3 separate regions of the Homo sapiens genome follow, and all the other regions are linked to region 2. The links are contacts of gene promoters, found by promoter capture Hi-C in blood cells and fetal thymus (Javierre and others, 2016). All regions are on one chromosome and are shown on one strand. The core of a region is centred on a gene start or on the middle of the fragment in contact, and the rest is flanking DNA. Distances in the headings are between cores, read along the strand shown. Region 1 overlaps PDHX (pyruvate dehydrogenase complex component X). Region 2 holds the start of SLC1A2 (solute carrier family 1 member 2). Region 3 overlaps PDHX (pyruvate dehydrogenase complex component X).

The links. Contacts are between HindIII fragments. The CHiCAGO score rates a contact against its expected background, and 5 or more counts as called.
Region 1: a fragment that was not itself captured here is called in contact with the fragment with the promoter of SLC1A2 in region 2 in 4 of 17 cell types (naive CD4 T cells, M2 macrophages, M1 macrophages and 1 more); the score reaches 6.1 in naive CD4 T cells.
Region 3: a fragment that was not itself captured here is called in contact with the fragment with the promoter of SLC1A2 in region 2 in 2 of 17 cell types (M2 macrophages and M0 macrophages); the score reaches 6.6 in M2 macrophages.

The regions. Positions count from the first base shown.
Region 1 is chr11:34,974,977-34,977,685 of GRCh38, forward strand. The region is part of intron 7 of PDHX (pyruvate dehydrogenase complex component X); the gene reads left to right. Among named protein-coding and RNA genes, the nearest start is that of MIR1343, 34 kb to the left of the region's middle. The HindIII fragment of the contact is 1,466 bases long and covers 534-1,999 here.
Region 2 is chr11:35,418,204-35,420,999 of GRCh38, forward strand. It overlaps SLC1A2 (solute carrier family 1 member 2), which reads right to left and starts at 1,355. Exons shown (of 11, transcript NM_004171.4): 1 at 747-1,355. The coding sequence starts at 763. It overlaps SLC1A2-AS2 (SLC1A2 antisense RNA 2), which reads left to right and starts at 854. Exons shown (of 2, transcript NR_186310.1): 1 at 854-904; 2 at 2,333-2,796. RefSeq lists an enhancer at 1,001-1,501. The HindIII fragment of the contact is 13,046 bases long and covers 1-2,796 here.
Region 3 is chr11:34,993,892-34,997,009 of GRCh38, forward strand. PDHX (pyruvate dehydrogenase complex component X) reads left to right here. Exons shown (of 11, transcript NM_003477.3): 11 at 1,023-2,237. The coding sequence ends at 1,281. Among named protein-coding and RNA genes, the nearest start is that of MIR1343, 54 kb to the left of the region's middle. The HindIII fragment of the contact is 5,121 bases long and covers 1-3,118 here.

The sequences.
Region 1 (2,709 bases), core at 17-2,516, 440 kb before region 2:
TTTTTGATAGTAGTCACCCTAATGGATATATCTTTATCATTTTTAAGAATTATTTTTGCTGGATATAGATTTTTCAGTTAATAGGGGTTTTGTTTCAGTTCTTTAAATAAAGATACTATTTCTTTATTTTCTGTCTTAGAATGTCTGCTGCCGTTCTTAATATTTGTTCCATTGTATATGATGTTTTCCACCTGTCTGGTTGCTTTCAAGATTTTTGCATTACCAATTTGGCTATTGTATGCCTAGATTTTTTTTTCTATTGTATTTACTGTTTGGGTTTCTCTCAGCTTCTTAGATGTATGGTTTGTTGTCTTCCTTTAATTGTGAAAAATTTCCAGTTATTTTTAATGATATCTTCTGTTCCATGTGGTTTCTCTTTGGGGCTCCAATTTTAAATGTTAGACTTTTTGAATTGCCCAAAGCTCTTAAATGCTCTATTTTTTTTGTTCATTCTTTTTTCTCTTTATGTTTCATATTGGATAATTTTTGTTTACCTAGCTTCAAGTTCACTGATTTCTTAGCTGTGTCTGCAAAGCTTAGCAAAATATATATTTTTTATCTTGGTTAGCATGGATTTTCCCCTCTGGATTTCCAATTGAATGTTTTTTTAGTTTCCATTTCTCTGCTGCTAGTCGCCATCTGTTTATGCATGTTGTACCATACTCTGCCCTCTTTACTCCTGTACTCTGACAGTGGGTATTTACTTCCTGTGTTTGTCTCTCCTCTGAGTGGATTATCACTCTTTGGCATTCAGTTCACCTGTTTGCTTTGTAACCTCCGCTCCCTAATGAGCTCAAGAAAAGTTACGATTTTGTAATTTATCCTGCTTTTTCTTTCACCCTGTCAGGATGGGAACAGCTTTCTTTTGCAACTTTCTACATCCCAGGTGAAAGCAGGACTTTTATCAGTTTATATACAGAGTTTCAAGATTTCATATAAAGACAACTTGAGAGCTTTTAAAAGTTCAAGGAACTAAATGGAAAGCTATTTTAAAGAAAGTGAGAAGTTTCTAAAAAATGAACCCTGGAAACACTCCTGTAGTTCTCAGATCATACTTGCTTAGTCATGATATAGAGGTTAATATGGGAATCACTTTCCTGTTTTCTTACTCTAATAAGGCAGAAAACAGTAATATTTCAGAGGAGATATGGATTAGTTTATTATCTTTGCATGGTCCAGTTTTGGTACACCTTGGTAATTAGGAATTTTCTTAAAAATCTTTACACCCCACATTATCTATCTTCACTCCTCTTTCTCATATAAAGTTACAATACATAACATTCTGTATGCATGCTTCACACTTTGCTTTTCTGTCTTGACAATGTGTAAATGAGAATGTTTGATATTACCTTACAAACTGTTTTCTACTCAGTAAATGTAACAGCATCTCCTTTCAATATGTTTGGAAAATCTCCATTATAAAGAGTTAAAAATAAAGGAATTCAAAGAGAAACCTACTTTACACATGTTAGATTTGAGATGCTTGTAAGCGATGCAAGTAGAAATTTCATGTGAGAAGTTGGATATACAAGTCTGAAGCCTCAGTATCTCAGAATTAGAGGTAGAATTTGGAAGAGTCATCATTATATAAATGGTATCAAAACCTTGGAATTGGAACTGGAACTTCTAGCCTGGGGAGATGCCAACATTGAGAGGAAAGGAATAAAAATGAGTGAGTGGGCAGAAAGTGGAAGAAAACCAGGAGAGTATAGTGACATAGGAGCCAGTAAAAGAATATATTTCATTCAACTCAAGAATGTTCCTAAATGTGGGAGTATGCTGAATACAGAATTTTAAGTGAGGACTGTGGACTTAGGTGGTAGGTTTGGGGGTCATTAGCTGGCAGATGGTTTTAGAAGTCTTCACTGTGAATACCTGTGGGTAAGTAGATAAAGTGAAGAGAAAGCTGAGAGAGCCATGAAAGGTAAGCAGAGTAAGTTCATGAACTGTTACATTTGAATTTGTACAAACCAAATCTTTCTATGTGGTTATCATTAAAAGCTTGTAAGCACTGTAAGTCCATTTATATTTCTATTCCTAAAGGGGTTTTAAGCAAAAATGTTTATATATTTCTGGAATTCTGAATTAGAGGAGCTTTGATACTTTGCAGCTGACAGTTATCGTGACAGTTTGACAGTATTTAGGTTTATGGTAATTCATCTAATCCCTTTCTGTAGTCTCCAGGATGCCTTTGGAATGAGCTGTTATTCACCTAAAATTCCGTGATACTTTAGTAATAGGATAGGTTTTTTGCCACATACCACTGACTAGATCTAGATCTTAGAGTCTTTTTCTATAAGCTCTTGCAAGAAAGAATCAAGTGTTGTTTACATTTTCTAACACTGTTATACCCAGTGGCAAATGCAAAGACATAAACAAATACTTTAGTTATGATCAGCTCGTAGGAAGTGGGAGGACCCCAGCTTTATCTTAAAATCATTATGTATACTGGAAAGAAATTGATTCAAATGCATTCACCATAAAACTATGGATGGAGAACCTCATTTTATTAATCACACTAGGACCTATGCCAGCATTGCTTCATCTTTGGCTTTTGTTATATCCTGTTTTGTTAAGTTAAAAAGCAGTTAAATTTTTTTTCACCTACACCCCATTAGTAAAAAGAAATTTTCGAACACTTTCCCATATGTGTATATATAACTGTTTATATATAAAGTACCTACATGTATCACTGTTCTAGTATAATCA
Region 2 (2,796 bases), core at 105-2,604:
TAGTTATCACTGCGAGGGAGCTTTCCCCATGCCAGCTGGAATCTTGGGAGGCAGGACACGACTCCAGATCCTCGGGCTGAATAGGGAAGCCAATGCTATCCCTGCCCGCTGGAGTCTGGCGACTCCTGCCCTTGTCCCAAACCACACGTTTTCCCGCCTCCCGGGAAGCACCCAAATCTCTTCCACCCTTCCTTAGAGCTAGCCAGGGAGATTCCGCCTTCCAGGGACAAGGACCGATCGGAGCGGGCCCAGCATCTCCATGGCGACTCTGCAAACCTGGCGTTCAAGGCCGCGCGCGCTGGTCCTTGCCCCGCCCCAGGGCCCTGTCTTGGCTCATTCCTTCCGAGCCGGCACCACCTGCAAGCCCGCCTCGGGCCTGGGGCGCCGCGCTCCAGGCGCTGCTACCCCGGTGTCTGCTCACACTATGCCCAATCCCCTATTGTTTTGAAATCCCAAAAGTAACCTCAAGAGGATTTCTTCCTCACACTCTCAGGCCCCCAGCGCACCTTACCCTTTTTATCAAAATAAAACAACCCTCCACCTCTCGCATTTTCAAAGGATTAAGCAGCAATCTCCAGGAAAGAAAATCAATCCCCTCCCCACCATCCCATCCCCAGCCAAGCTACGGCTCCGCCACCACCTCCGAGGCCCGCCGCCGCCGCCTCTCTATCCGCATCCCGGATAGGGGCGCCACCACCCCGCGCGTGACCCCGCTTTCCCGCGGGTACAGATAAAAATCCCCTCACCCTTCCGTAGATGCCATGGTCTGGGGAACGCCCCCTCCTCTTCAGCACTATCCGGCAGCTGTGGGCGAGGGAGAAAGCGGACGCCGGGGTGAGCGCGAAGTGCGGCCGGGAGCGGTATTTAAGAGGAGCCTCTGCCCGCCCTTCCACCCGCCTCCGGGGTAAGCCCTTTAGCGCCTCAACGGGCGCAGGAGGCTCCTGCGGGCGCTAATCCGCGTCCCGGCTCTCCACGGCGCGCGACCCGCGCTCCCCTCCGCCCGCGGGGATGGCGCTTGGCGGGGAGCTCCGGGGGCTCCGAGGGTGGCTTCCCCGAGAGAGCGATGCGCCCAGGGCTGCAGGAGGGCGCACGCCGGCGATGCGCCCCTGCAGCCGCTGCCACCTGTGCTTTGCTGCGGGGCTCGCGGGCGCGGCGAGTGGCGGGAGCAGAGAGTGGTGGCAGAGGACGGTGAGCGTGCGTGCGCGTGTGCGGGTGTGTGCGCGCCTGGGGAGGCGGTGGAGGCCGCTGCGCTCTGGCTCGGCGCCGGCCAGGGAGGGATTGCAAGGTTTAGCCCCGCCGGAGCTGGGGATTTGCAGGCGATCCCTCTCTATTTTCGTCGAGAGCTGACATCACCCGCGCCGCCGCCTCGGGCAACTCCTTTAACCGCCGCCCCCCGCCCCCATCTCCAGTCGCGGTCCCTCCTCTGCCATCCCTCCCCCCAGCCTCTCGCCATAAATTAGCCAAATAAGAAAAGAGGCCCCGCCGCTCGTCCGGGAAGGCTTGGGCAGCCGGTGGCAGGAGCCCAGGATCTAAGGAGTAGCTATTGTTTCCCCTGAAGCCCGCGTGGCCCCAGGTCACCCCGTGCGGGGTGAAGCGCAGGCGACCGCGCGGAGACCCGGGATGCCCCTCCGTCTCCGCCTCCCTGGAGCAGCCCCTGGCGCTCCCTCCTCACTCCCCGGAGCACCCGCTTCAGCTCACACTCACCCCCAAACTCACAGGCAGGCACACCCACCCCATCCTCCCACGTCTGGGGGTCCCAGGTCCAGCGGAGTCGAGCGGCTGAAACACGCGGGTGGTGCAGCCTAAACGCGGCCCAGCTGCGCTCCCTCCCCCGCCGAAGCTCGAATAAATCTCTGGCCTTCAATTATTCAGCGAGATTAATATTAATGCAGCTCCCTGGGGGCGGCGGGCGGGGTGCAGGGGAGGCCGGGATTTTTTTTTTTTTTTTTTAGGCCGAGAGAGGTCGGCCTCGTGGGTGCCGGCTGAGAAGGCGCGGAGAGTTGGCCGAGGGGTGAGTGGCGGGGGACGGTTCTCCACCCACTCGGCGCTGCTCGCCGCCTGCTTCCGTGTCCCGGGGGCGGCGCACAGAGACAGATGGGCTTGTGCAAGGGAGAGTTCGAGCCTTCCGGACGCCTTTGCATAAAAATGACGAGACCTGTGCAGCTTTGATTATCTCTGGAATACTGCAGGAACCTAGGGTCCCACTACTTGCCGACCCTGTGAGCGCAGAGCAGGCAAAGCCTCACTTTCCTCGTCTAGGCAATGGAACCCAAAAGAACTCACTTGGAGGGCCACAGGAGAATTAAACAGACTCTCTTTTTCCCCGGGGTAGACGATCTTCGGATTTGCGCTGTGCTGGACCTTGTTAGACGATGGAACGCGACCGGCCACGTGCAAACTCTCTGAGTAGGTCCCGGGGATGGTGCCAGAGGAGCCGGAGTCCCAGCAGGACCGATTGGTAGTTAAATGCCAGGCGCTGATATCCGAAGGCTTGAGTTCTTCACCACCTTCTAGCTGAGTAACCTGGGGCAAATTCCTCCATCTCTCTCTTCATCCCACCTGTAAAATGGGACTATCTTCTCCCACTTCTCTGTGCTAAGAGAACTAAATGAAATGGAGAGGATATGTAAAACTCCTAAAGTGGCGTCTGGCACCCAGTAAACCCTCCAAAAATATTCAGTGCATTTTCAGAGTCCTTAGAAGATAGTTTATTGGACAAAATATCCAAGTATGAACAGACAGATGAGAAAAATAACAAGAAAAAGAGGGGAAAACACATTAATAAAATTTAAAAAA
Region 3 (3,118 bases), core at 316-2,815, 420 kb before region 2:
ATTCAGTTATTTGATTTCTTTCAGTTATGTTTTATAATTTTCTGTGTAGAGGTCTTGTATATGTTTCATTAGATTTATTCTTTGGTATTTGTTTTTTGATACTATTATAAATGGTATTGTTTTAAATTTTTATTTTCTAATTATAGCAACTTGTATGTAGAGTCATGTGCCACTTTATGATGGGGATATGAGAAATGCATTGTTAGGCAGTTTCATCATGCAAACATCATAGAGTGTACTTACGCAAATCATGCAAACATCATAGAGTGTACTTACACAAACCTAAATGGTACATGCTGCTACACACCTTAGCTGTATGATATAGCCAGTTGCTCCTAGACTGCAAACCTATACAGCATGTTACTCTACTGAATACCGTAAGCAGTTGTGACACAATGATGAGTATTTGGGTATCTAAACATATCTAAGCATTTTTAAAATGTACAGTAAAAATGTAAAAAGTAAAACATGGTACACCTGTTTAGGGCACTTACCGTGAATGGAGCTTGCAAGACTAGAAGTTGCTCTGGAAGAATCAGTGAATGAGTGAATGCTTAGGACATCACTATACACTACTGTAGACTTTATAAACACTGCACACTTAGGCTACACTAAATTTATTTTTAAAATAAAGTAATTGCAATATGATGTTATGACAGCTATGATGCCACTAGGCAGCAGAAATTCCTGAGCTCCATTATAATCTTATAAGACCACCGTTGTATATGTGATCCTTCGTTATGTGGGACATGACTCGATATAAAATGGATTGTTATATTGACCTTTTATCTGATGACTTAACTAAATTTACTTATTAATTTTACTAGTTATCTATAGTCTCATTTTTCCTGTGTACACAATTAATTTATTTGTAAATACTAAATGTTTCCTTTTTTCATTACTCATATATTTTTTTCTTGCCTTACTACACTGCCTAGTAAAATATATAAAATATGTGCTTCACGGAAAGGGGACTTTGATTAAGGACATGCCTCCTTCAGAGCTTTTTCTTTTCCCCCTAGTATTTCCAACTTGGGGATGTTTGGCATCGACGAATTTACTGCAGTGATTAACCCTCCTCAGGCCTGCATTTTGGCGGTTGGGAGGTTCCGACCTGTGCTGAAGCTCACTGAGGATGAAGAGGGAAATGCCAAACTGCAGCAGCGCCAGCTCATAACAGTCACAATGTCAAGTGACAGTCGAGTGGTTGATGACGAACTGGCAACCAGGTTTCTTAAAAGTTTTAAAGCAAACCTAGAGAATCCTATCCGACTTGCCTAGTCCTCAAAGATAAGAAGTTGGTGTTCAGCTTAGTTGATTCAGTAGTTGTTACCAAGAAACATATGTTATAGGAAAACAACTTGGTATTTAAGTATGAAGTGGATGAAATGTTTATTTATTTAAGGTGAAAGCATTTGACCCAGGGTGTCTTCATCTTCAATTTGGGTTTAATGTTATAGAAATAAATGATGATAAACTCTAACTAATAAAGGAAAGAGAATATTTGGTTACTCAGATCCATTTTTAACCTCTGGTGCTGTATAAAGGGAATATTAAACTAGATGTAAATCAAAGTATATGTTTGGCTCATTTGAGCATTTTGGAATATTTGAGAATGTATGATACATGTAAAATTAAAAAAACTATTAGAACTGTACCATAATTATGTTGAAGGTAGAAGTGATCTTCAAAGAGATGGCCATTAACTTAGCAGTGGGACCTCACTTTTACAAGCACTGCTCTAGATATACTTGAAGAATTTAATAGGTACAGAAGTTTATTCTGGATAATAAATAAATAAGGATCACACTGTATTAGGGGTTATGGCAACATTATTGAATTTTTTATGTACATAAAGCCATATGTTTAGGGTGGTTTCTATCTGTCTTGTTTTTCACTTATATAACACTGTGAACTTCTAAAGCAAGAGGATAAAAGAAGCATGAATGAAAAGAATGACATTTCAAAAAAATGGTTCAATGAAAAACTATAGCTAAAATATGTAAACCTTTCTAGGTAAACCGCTTGCCTTCATCTTGAGTCGGAATATATTTAAATAAATTGTGTTATCTCTTGCCAAACATTTTGTTAGTGTTTATTTAAAAACAAAATGTTGTTTCTTAATGCATTTAAATCAGTTTTGTATTGTGCAGTAAAATGTGAGAAAATATAAACATTTCTATTGTATTTTAAATGTTAAAACACAAAAGTTCAATAAACCTTGAAGTTGATTAGTAGTTTTTCTAGAACACCTTTAAAAGGGCTCTACAGGAGAAAAGACGGAATTTAAAATTAGTATGACATTAGGAAAGTAACTGATAGGAAATGTAAAACTTTGGAAAGAGAATAGAAGACTTATGAAGCCAAACAGATGAGAACTATCCTTTTTATTTCACTAATATGAAATTTTCACTAATTATTATAAAGTTTAGAAGAGTTTGTTTCTCTCTTTTGGCAGCTCTGCTATAACTGTCAAGATAACTATATTTAAGTTGGATGGTAATGAATGGTAATTTAATTAACTTGTCACAAAAAGGTTTATGTTAGTGTCAGCTGACATGAATCAATAGAAGAAAGGCTAATATAGTACAAGTTGTATGGTATGACATGATGAATTATAAACCCTAACAGAAGAGCCTTCTAAAATAATTAGCACCCTGGTGTATTAATTGTTAAGAAAATGCTTAATCCAACTATCCAACTCAGTTTAACAAGCCATTTAAAAAAAATAGTCTTCAAAACTTTTGTCATATTAACAGTTACACTGAAAATTATAACCAAAGGCTATTTTCAAAATAATTTTTATGTTACATTATTTCCAAGGTCAGTTTTAATCGAAATTATTATTATTATTACTACTTTTTCTTGAGATGGGGTCTTGCTCTGTGGCCCAGGCTGTAGTGCAGTGCTGGGATCACAGATCACTGCAACCTCGACCTCCTAGGCTCAAGTGATCCTCCTCCCTCAGCCTCCCGAGTAGCTAAGGACTAAAGGCATGCACCATCATGCCTGGCTAATTTTTCTATTTTTTTTTTTTAGAGACAGGGTCTTGCCATGTTGCTCAGGCTGGTCCCAAACTCCTGGGCTCAAGTAGTCGACCCACCTTGGCCTCGCAAAG